2 separate regions of the Homo sapiens genome follow, and region 1 is linked to region 2. Evidence: promoter capture Hi-C in human tissues and cell types (Jung and others, 2019). All regions are on one chromosome and are shown on one strand. Each heading gives the region's core, a stretch centred on a gene start or on the middle of the fragment in contact. The rest is flanking DNA. Distances are from core to core; before and after follow the strand shown.

Region 1 (3,071 bases), core at 101-2,600, 1.2 Mb before region 2:
GGCCGAGGCGGGTGGATCAGAAGGTCAAGGAGTTCAAGACCAGCCTGGCCAAGATGGTGAAACTCATCTCCACTCAAAATACAAAAATTAGCCGGGCGTGGTGGTGGGTGCCTGTAATCCCAGCTACTTGGGAGGCTGAGGCAGAGAATTGCTCGAACCCGGGAGGCGGAGGTTGCAGTGAGCTGAGATTGCGCCACTACACTCCAGCCTGGGTGACAGAGCGAGATTCTGTCTCAAAAAAAAAAATATTGTTATTAGCTCAGGTGATCTTCGTTGCTTATTTCCTTCTGTATCTGGTAGATTGCAGCACCTCGTCATCGTGACTCTGCTTTCTTTTGAACTTGTTAACGTAGAGATATTCGGAGGTATAAAGACAAGCTCTCTTCTAGAGCTGTCTTGGGGAGTATCTTGAAAACAGAAGGTAAAGGATTTGGGGCTGGCAGCAAAGACAACTCTGCAGCTTGAAGCCAAAGGATCACCCAATAGGTGGCCCATTATTGTCTCGGGTTAGAAACACTGCAGAAAGAAATGCCACATTTGACCTACGCTCCCTCTCCTTCAAACTGTAGAAAGGAAAACTTAAAAATACCTAAAATTGTCACCTGACTTTATTCTTTTAAGAAGTGAAAATGACGTGCTCAGATTTCATATTCGAGTCCCCACAATTAGGAAGCATTTAGCATTGGACTTTGGTGTCAACTCTTGGGAATCTAAGCCTAGTTTGGATCTCAAGGCAAGTCGTTTCCAGTTGATTTAATTAAGAATATGACTTTGTGAAATATAAAAGAACAGTGAGTTTTCCTTTTGAAAAGAATTTGAGAACTGCAGAGGAGGAAACCACTTGCTTCTTTGAGCAGCCTCCATGGCTTTGTGAGGGACCTGCTCTTGGATAGAACTCTGCTACTTTATGGAGCTCTAAGGCCAGAATCACCAATAAGTAAAAGATAGTCCAGGATTAGAACCATGACAGGGCAGAACCAGATGTGAGAAATGATTGGTTTGTTTGGCACGCTTCAGTACTGAGAGGTTGTGTGTGTGTGTGTGTGTGTGTGTGTGTCAGAGAGAGAGATACGCTTCTTATCTTCAAGTAAAAAGAAGAGGGTTTCAACTAGAAGTTTTAGCCAAAGTTTTATTACGGGAAAGAGATGAGTCCATTGGTTGGCCTGTGGCATAGCCCACTGGGCAATTTGGCATCATGGAGGCCGCCTTCTTAGAATGAGTGCCAAGCTTGCTTATTGTAGTTTTTGCATAGAGTGAATGGTGAAGTGGAATCGCTGTAGACCAGCGCTTCTCACACCGATGTGCTGAGGAATCATCTGAGGGTCTAAGTGCAGGGCCGATTTCGGGGGGCGGGAGGTGGGATGAGGGCTGGGTCTGCATCTCCAGCTACCTCCCTGCAATGTCCATGGAGCTAGACTTCTCAGCACAAACTACTGCTAAGCCAGCAAGCCAGTTCCTAAATTCCTGTTTGCCAATACCAAGTAGAGAGTTGCCCAACTGAGTTAAATGTTTTGGTCTGTGTTTTATTTTAGTTCTTAGTTTGATTTTAGCTTTTCCTTTGTTCTTAGTATACACTTTTTCAGGCACTAACGTTATCATTATGATATAAAAGCTCAATGTCAAGTAGAGTTTCTTTTGCATATTTACTTTCTCGTTTAACACAAATATAACAAGCACCCCATAAGTGCCATTTGCACAACAGCAAATAATGGGGACCCCCATATCCCTCTGTGTAGCCTAAGGTCTTTTAGGGGAGAGACAAGTTCACAGGCAAAACCAGGGGAAATGCAAGGTGTGCTGGGGTCTCATGAGTTACAGGAGGGTCTCGCTCAGCCTTGTGGGGGATGCTGAATGAGGAAACTTAGCCTGAATTAGAGCCCCCAGCTGGAAACCTGGCAGCTGGAATCCCAGCGCTCTCCTCTCAGCCGGGGTTGTTCCCGCCCAGAAATATCAGGGTTCCTCTTTCAAGCACTTAAAAGGGCTTCCCATTTTCTAGGATGGGATGGATTAACCTGATAAAGGCCTCACCAAGGTCAAATAAATGAGCAGACACTGTATATGCTAAGCCGTCAGAAATCTAATTGGCCTGTTTATGCTTCAGCTAGATGGATGGGATGCAAATGTCTTAATGTGGCTGCTGATACATGCCCCAGCCGAAAGTTCCAGCAGTTTACATTAGACCAAGACATTGGCTGCTTGGTTTTTACTAATGTAGTTCAGAAGTTTCTAGTGTTTACAATAGCTGTGAGGTATTTGTATTTTTATGGGGATTCTCTCTCCTTTCATCTGATGTCAAAACATATATAGACATGGCAGCACTGGTTGCCTGTTCCATTTTATGAACCAGAGGACCATTAACAGATAGATATCTTGCCCCCCCCTTCCCAGAACATCCTGAGCCTCTCCCCTACCCCAGCCCACTTCCATCAGAGTTGCCCTAGAAATCATTAGTTCCAGAAACGCATCCCTGCGTGGAGTCTGTGCCCTCCAGCCATGCAGAGTGTCTGCCAGAGGCTGTCCCTGGCTGACAGGTTTACCTTGGTATTCATGAAGGATTCCAGACCTTAGCCCTCAATGGTGGGAAAGCAGAACTACTTCTGCACTCTCCTCCTCTGCCATGGTGCTGCGGCCTTTATGTTTGAATTGGCTGACGCAAAACAAGAGTATTCAGAGATGCTAAATTGTTCAACAAAAGATTGGCCCGCAGAGCAGCCCCGCCATTGTGGAGTGCCCTCACCCAGCACAATGCCCCAGCTCCCACAGAATGGGCAGCATTTTCTTTGCAGAAAGCTGGTTCCTGTGTTCTAAAAAGGTTGCAATTGGAGCTATTTGGTAAAACTGGAACTCACAGAATTCTAGGCAGAAAGTTGTGATTAATGAAAGGCCAGGGAAAGCCTTACCTGATATGCTAGAGACTTAATTAGAGATTCTGCCGTAAGATGCAGAAGCATTTCACAGTGGATTAGCAGCCTGCAGAAGTGGGCTGCTTTTCCTCCTGGGCTAAATTGTTTAAATTCTACACCCTTCACTTCATTTGTTTGCTTCTGCTGGGTTTTCACGAGCGGGGCCCC
Region 2 (7,020 bases), core at 3,093-5,592:
AGACAGGAGGATTGCTTAAGCCCACGAGTTGGAGAATAGCCTGGGCAACACAGCAAAACATCGTCTCTAAAAATAAATAAAAAAGGCACAGATTATCAGAATAGATTAAAAAAAAAAAAGCAAGACCTAACCATATGTTGTCTACAATATAAAGACTTTAAATATAAAGACATAGGTCAGTTGAAAGAAAATGAATGAGAAAAGAGATAACATGCAAAGAGTAAACATAACAAGACTGAAATGGCTATATTACTATCAGATAAACTACATTTCAAGAGAAAGTGTTACCAGAGATACAAAGGGATGTTTCATGAAAATAAAACAGTCAATTCATCAGGAAGATATAACAAAGATAAATATGTATGCACCTTATAATAACAATGCTTCAAAATACGTGAAGCAAAAATTGACAGAACTCGATGGAGAAATTGGCAATTCCATAATCCTAGTTCGAATTAACACCTTGCCACAACAGTTGATAAAATAACTAGAAAAAAAAATCCATAAGGAAATACAAGATTTGAACATAATAACTAACTTGACCAAACTGATATTAGCTCATCACTGCTCAACAGAATGCACATGCTTTTAAAGGGCCCATGGTACATTCCCCAACTCACACTACATGCTGGGTTGTGAAATAACTCCCAATAAATTTGCAAAGACTGACATTCTACATCATTTGTTCTTTGACCTGAATGGAATTAAATAAGAAGTCAGTAAGAATAGCTAGAAACCCTCCAAATACTTGGAAATTAAATAGATGATGCACAGAAAGGCACTGCATTCATCAAGTGCATGCAATTTTTTTGATGACTTTCACTGTAAAAGGGAGCAGAGAGATAGGGTAATGAGTGTAGTCAGAAATCATGACCCTTCTCAGCCAAGCGAGGTGGCTCACACCTGTAATCCCAGCACTTTGGGAGGCCGAGGCAGGCGGATCACGAGGTTAGGAGATCAAGACCATCCTGGCCAACATGGTAAAACCCCGTCTCTATTAAAAATACAAAAAAATTTAGCTGGGCATGGTGGCGCACGCCTGTAGCCCAGCTACTCAGGAGGTTGAGGCAGGAGAATCGCTTGAACTTGGGAGGCAGAGGTTGCAGTGAGCCGAGATCGCACCACTGCACTCCAGCCTGGGCGACAGAGTGAAACTCTGTCTCAAAACAAAAACAAAAACAAAAGAAAAGAAAAAAAGAAATCATGACCCTTCTCTTGTCAGAACCCGGCAGTAGATCTCGCTGACCTCAGATAAGATCCACACACAATCTTGGCACCCTAGGCTTTCCCCAGTAATAGCCTAACCCCCTTTTCCCATCTGAGTTTCTATCCTCCATGAACTTCCTTTTCCAGGCAAAAAAGACAACTGATACCCTCAAAGTCAGTCAGTTGCACAGTCCAGGTGGGTGCCAAGCACTGTGTCAGTGACCCATGAGGAGCCAGACAAGGTGCCTGTCCCCTCAAAGAACTATCTCAAAACCAGTGGGACAGTCAGACAGTTGAGATATACCATGCCAGCCGTGGAGTCCTCATATAATAAAGTGCTCTGAAACTAAAAAGGACAATGGAAGTAATTCTGCCAGAGAAAACTCAGGAAAGCTTTGTAGTGGACAAATATCTGTAGTGAGGCAACTTTTGAGACAAATACGGAAACAACACAGCCTGAATAAGTGATACTAAATAAATTCTGTTAATTTTCTTGGGTATGATCATTAATGCTGAAGTTGTTTTTCTTTAAATTCCTTATTTATGAGAGATGCATACTGAACACTGAAGTATTAGATTGGTGCAAAAGTAATTGTGGTTTTTGCCATTTACAGATGAAATGATATGACATTTGAATTTTGTTTTAAAGAACTACATCAGAGAAGTGTCATACACAAGTTTTACTTCGTTCTACATTCACAGCAGCTCCACGAGGTTAAGTACCTTGCTCAAAGTGACAGTGACAAAGGGAGAGACCTGGATTTGAACTCACTCTATGAAGGGTCACTCAAGACACCAAATCCTGGTATAGACCCCTAGTGAAAGAGACAATTTCCAAAGAGATCCACACTTGGGGTTGCAGATTTGGGGGAAAGAAGACAGGTGAGTCATTTGTAAGTGGTGAATCTGAGTGATGAATCCATGGAACTTCAAAACTACTTCTGGATATCTTTGCAATGTTTTCATACTGAGAAGTTAGAAATAAGAGTAGGTCTTGGCCGGGCGCAGTGGCTCACGCTTGTAATCCCAGCACTTTGGGAGGCCGAGGCCGGTGGATCAGGAGGTCAGGAGTTCAAGACCAGCCTGACCAACATGGTGAAACCCCGTCTCGAGCGGGGTGCGGTGGCTCACGCCTGAAATCCCAGCACTTTGGGAGGCCGAGGCGGGCGGATCACGAGGTCGGGAGATCGAGACCATCCTAGCCAACATGGTAAAAACACAAAAATTAGCCAGGTGTGGTAGCGCGTGCCTGTAGTCCCAGCTACTCGGGAGGCTGAGGCAGGAGAATACCTTGAACCCGGGAGGCGGAGTTTGCAGTGAGCCGAGATCGCGCCGCGCCACCCCACTGCACTCCAGCCTGGCGACAGAGCAAGACTCCCTCTCAAAACAAACAAACAAACAAACAAACAAAAAACAAACCCCGTCTCTACTAAAAATACAAAAAAAATTAGCCGGGCGTGGTGGCGGGCGCCTGTGGTACCAGCTACTCAGGAGCCTGAGGCAGAGAATTGCTTGAACCCGGGAGGCCGTGGTTGCAGTGAGCTGAGATCACTCCACTGCACTCCAGCCTGGGCGACAGAGTGAGACTTCATCTCAAAAAAAAAAAAAAAAAAAAAAAAAATGTAGGTTTGGATGCCTTCCACCCAACTTCTTCCCCCACCTCCAGGAATTCAAGGAGTCACTCAACAGCCCCCTGAGGCTTGAGAAAAATGTTCCTTGGCCCTATGGGCACCATTCTGCTTGTTGCAACCCATGCTCCCGGAAGGGTCCCCAAGTCCGAGGGAGCCACACAGCTGCAGAAGCCGACAATCTGGATACAAGCACGCCCCCATGCAACCCACAACCCAGGGATGTCTAACTCCAGGCAAGCCCTTCTCAACTCACCAACTTGGGTCCCCAGGCCCCAAGGCTACTGACCCGAGTCGCACGGCCCTAGCCGTCCCCCCCCCCACTATCAAGACCAAGTCTGGATGTCTACCCACAAACAATCCTCCCCCACAAACCCGGGTCCTAGTGGCCAAGCTGCACCATCACCACCACAGTGCACCAGCCATCCACAAGAGCCCTAATAACTGGACTGAGGTTGGGCACGGTGGCTCACGCCTGTAATCCCAGTACTTTGGGAGGCCGAGGCGGGGGGATTACTTGAGGTCAGGAGTTCGAGACCAGCCTTGCCAACATGGTGAAACCCCGTCTCTACTAAAACACAAAATATTAGCCGGGCGTGGTGGCGTGCGCCTGTAGTCCCAGCTACTCGGGAGCCTGAGGCAGGGGAATCACGCCACTGCACTCCAGCCTGGGCGACAAGAGCGAAACTCTGTCTCAAAAAAACAAAACAAAACAAAAACCAAAAAATTAGCCGGGCGTGGTGGCGGGTGCCTGTAATCCCAGCTGCTCGGGAGGCTGACGCGGGAGCATGGCTTGAACCCGGCGGCTGGGGTGGGGCGCGGAGATTGCAGTGAACCGAGATTGCGCCACTGCACTCCAGCCTGGGCGACAGAGAGAGACTCTGTTTCAAAAATAAATAAATAAATAAATAAAATTTAATAAATAAACAAATAAACAACCCGACTGATGCCCAAGCCGCGTGCCTCCCACTAATGGGGAAGTTTGCTCCAACCGAGGATATCATGTCCTCCAAAGGCACATTTGCTGGCCCAGAGACCTCCGAGGCGCGATGGTGGGGAGGGGATGGCGGGATACTAGTGGCAGGATGCTGTCTGGGTACCCCAGGCAGAGCCCACTCAGCGGCCCCCGAAGTACCGGGGACGCACCTGCGAAGTAGCTCGGGAAGTCGGTCCCAGGCCTGCACTGGCCCCTCCAGGTCAACATACTGGGCCCAAAGTCCCGCCAGAAGCACGCGACAACGCCAACGCCCCCTCCCCACCAGAGGACCTCCGCCAAGACCTCTCTCCGGGGTGGACCACGCACGCCCAGACCCCACAGCCGAAACTCAAAACACCAAGGAACATGTGGCCACGACATGGACTGCCCATGCCAGCTTTCCCGACCTTCCTTCCAGTGGAAGGCCCGCGAAAGCGGGGACCACCTCCGGGCTAGCTCACCAGAACTGTGAAAGGACACTCACCACGCACCAGGCGACGATGCCGGAACGCGGAAGTACGCGAGCCGGACTGCCCCTGGGCACGGAACTACACTACCCAGACTGCCACGGGGCGCGCAACTACCCTACCGTGGATGCCCTGGAGCGAGGGACTACAACATCCAGAATGCTGCGAGGGGCGGGACCGCAGCATCCAGGAGAAATTGTGAAAAATCAGAAAGTAAAATCTAACTTTCGGGTCTATGAGAAGGGTGGTCAGGTGAGCAGTAAGTCTTCTTTAACTTTTTATACGGTCCTTCTAATTTTTTTTTTTTTTAAAAAGATGTTACATGTCCTCCATCCTGCAAATTCACACCTGTGATTGTACACCCCTGAACTTTATCTACTTACTTATTTTTTGAGAAGGGGTCTTGCTCTGTCGGCCAGGCTGCAGTACAATGGTGTGATCATAGCTCACTGCAGCCTCAAACCCCTGGCCAAGCAATCCTCTCACCTCAACTTTCTGAGTAGCTGGGAATACAGGTGCATAGCACCACACCGGGCTAATTTTTTGTTTTGTTTTTTAGAATCTGGGTCTCGCGGCCGGGCGCGGTGGCTCACGCCTGTAATCCCAGCACTTTGGGAGGCTGAGGCGGGCGGATCAGAGGTCAGGAGTTCGAGAGCAGCCTGGCCAATGTGGTAAAATCCCGTCTCTACTAAAAATACAAAAATTACCTGGGCGTCGTGATGGGCGCCTGTAGTCCCGGCTACTCAGGAGGGTGAGGCAGGAGAATCACTTTGAACTCGGGAGGTGGAGGTTGCAGTGAGCCAAGATCGCACCACTGTACTCCAGCCTGGACAACAGAGTGAGATTCCTTCTCAAGGGGGAAAAAAAAAAAAAAGAATCTGGGTCTCGCTATGTTGACCAGGCTGGTCTGGAACTCCTGGCCTCAAGCAATTTTCCCACTTCAGGCTCCCAAAGTGCTGGGATTACAGGCGTGAGCCGTCCTTGTGGCCCAGGCTGCCTTTCGAGTTTATTTAGGGCCCTCTAGCCAGAGGTGGTGAGATTGGCAGTAACTCAAATTCCAACTGCTGGGATAGGTGATTCTCCTCGGGCTAAGGCTGGTGTAAATACTCCCTCCATGCGTGAGAATCAGCTGTGTTTGATCCAGTTTTGCTTTCTGGTATAACAGGGCAGCACTGAGTTCAATGCAATGTCTCATCATTGCTGTGCTTGCCGTCTCCCAAGAACATAGATTCTCTCTCCGCACCACAGAGCCACTGCTGGGGGATGGGTCAGGGGCATTGGTGATTCAAGACTGTCTTTCCTACCTTTTCAGTGCCTCTTTCAGTCATATGAAGTAAAAACCAGGTACTGCGAGTGCTTACCTGATTTTTGGTTCTTGTGAAGGTGCTTTTGTGTGTAAATAGTTGTTAACTTGTTTTTCTTACAAGGGGGAATGATCAGTGGAGCCTTCCATTCCACCATCTTGCTCCACCTCCCACCCCCATGTTTTAAATGACAGTGTGTATGAATGTACTTCTAAAAATGCCAAAAATACTGGGGTTTTTTTTCCTGTTATAAAGAAGAAGATTCTGAAGTTTTTTTTTTAATTCCAATTGATTACAAGAAGATAAGGAAAAACTAAACTTGAGGACATTTAACACTATAGCAATTAAAGTTATCTTACTAATGCAAAGATTGTTTATTAGATGTAACAGAATAATACGCTCAAAAACATACCAAAGTCTTTGCAAAATGAGTTATACTCTTTTTCTAAGAATTTGATAAAAAGTGGTATTTTTAAGTTACTTCCTATTTGCTTCTTCTCAAAATGAAGTAACAGGAACCAGATTTAGCCCTTCACCTTAATCAACATTTAAAAGGACAAAATATATGAAACATTTGAAGACATTTGACATCAGACAATGAAGAGCAGTGGAAATCATGGAGGTGAGCCTTTGAACTTCCCGCAGATGGAGAGAATTTCCAAGTCATAGCACAGAGAAGGGAAACTCAAGTGAAGCATGGAGTTCAACTTGAGGAGATGGAACTGGGAATCTGAGGAGGCATATGCATCTAGAGTTCACAGGGCAGAGTACAGAAAGGGAGAGAGAGCGCCAGAGATGTGCAGAGAGTCCTCTTCCTCAGGTATTAGTTAAGTGCTGACCAGCATGTACATGTGAGGAAACTCCTCAAAATTAGGGGTAAAAAACACTAGAAAGGGTTAGAGGGCAATACTGTGAGCTCAAAAAGAACAGGAATAATGTCTGTTCCCACGAGACAGAGTGGAAATGCTAATTCACATGGCATCAAGTCATGTACTCGGAAGGGTTTTGCCTCAATAGTGGGGCAAAAATTAACCTAAATGCTTCTCTGGTCTCACCTAACAGAGCTTAAATCCAAGCCTAGAAAGGACTGAATTGTTCCCAAGTAACTTAACTGCATCCCAGATAAAAAGCTCAAGAATATTTAAAAGAATACAAAACTATCCAGCATCCAATAAGGCAAAATTGGGGACTTTTTTTTTTTTTTTCTATTCTTACACCTGCTTCCATCCTAAGACCCTGGATTTTAGAATTCCAATTAAAAAAATGCTAGCATGCAAAGAATATATTCCCCAAAATGAAGAGAAAAGTCAACCAATAGAAATTACACAGAAGATATAATTAAAAGGTAAGGACACAAGCTGGGCACAGTGGCATGCGTCTGTAGTTGCAGCTACTTAGGAGGCTGCTTAAAACGATTGGGACAATTGCTTAAACCTAGG

What was found. The method cuts DNA at HindIII sites, captures the fragments that hold promoters and counts their contacts. A contact is called where the count stands out against the background at its distance.
Region 1: a fragment that was not itself captured here is called in contact with the fragment with the promoter of ZNF169 in region 2 in 1 of the 25 tissues and cell types used here (dorsolateral prefrontal cortex).

What each region holds. Positions count from the first base shown.
Region 1 is chr9:95,450,315-95,453,385 of GRCh38, reverse strand. All of the region lies in intron 20 of PTCH1 (patched 1), which reads left to right. Among named protein-coding and RNA genes, the nearest start is that of PTCH1, 57 kb to the left of the region's middle. The HindIII fragment of the contact is 5,168 bases long and covers 1-3,071 here.
Region 2 is chr9:94,256,620-94,263,639 of GRCh38, reverse strand. ZNF169 (zinc finger protein 169) reads right to left here and starts at 4,342. Exons shown (of 5, transcript NM_194320.4): 1 at 4,295-4,342. It overlaps LINC02603 (long intergenic non-protein coding RNA 2603), which reads left to right and starts at 4,329. Exons shown (of 3, transcript NR_160773.1): 1 at 4,329-4,529. RefSeq lists enhancers at 2,885-3,530, 3,860-3,989, 3,531-4,177, 4,020-4,339, 4,178-4,823. The HindIII fragment of the contact is 11,443 bases long and covers 1-7,020 here.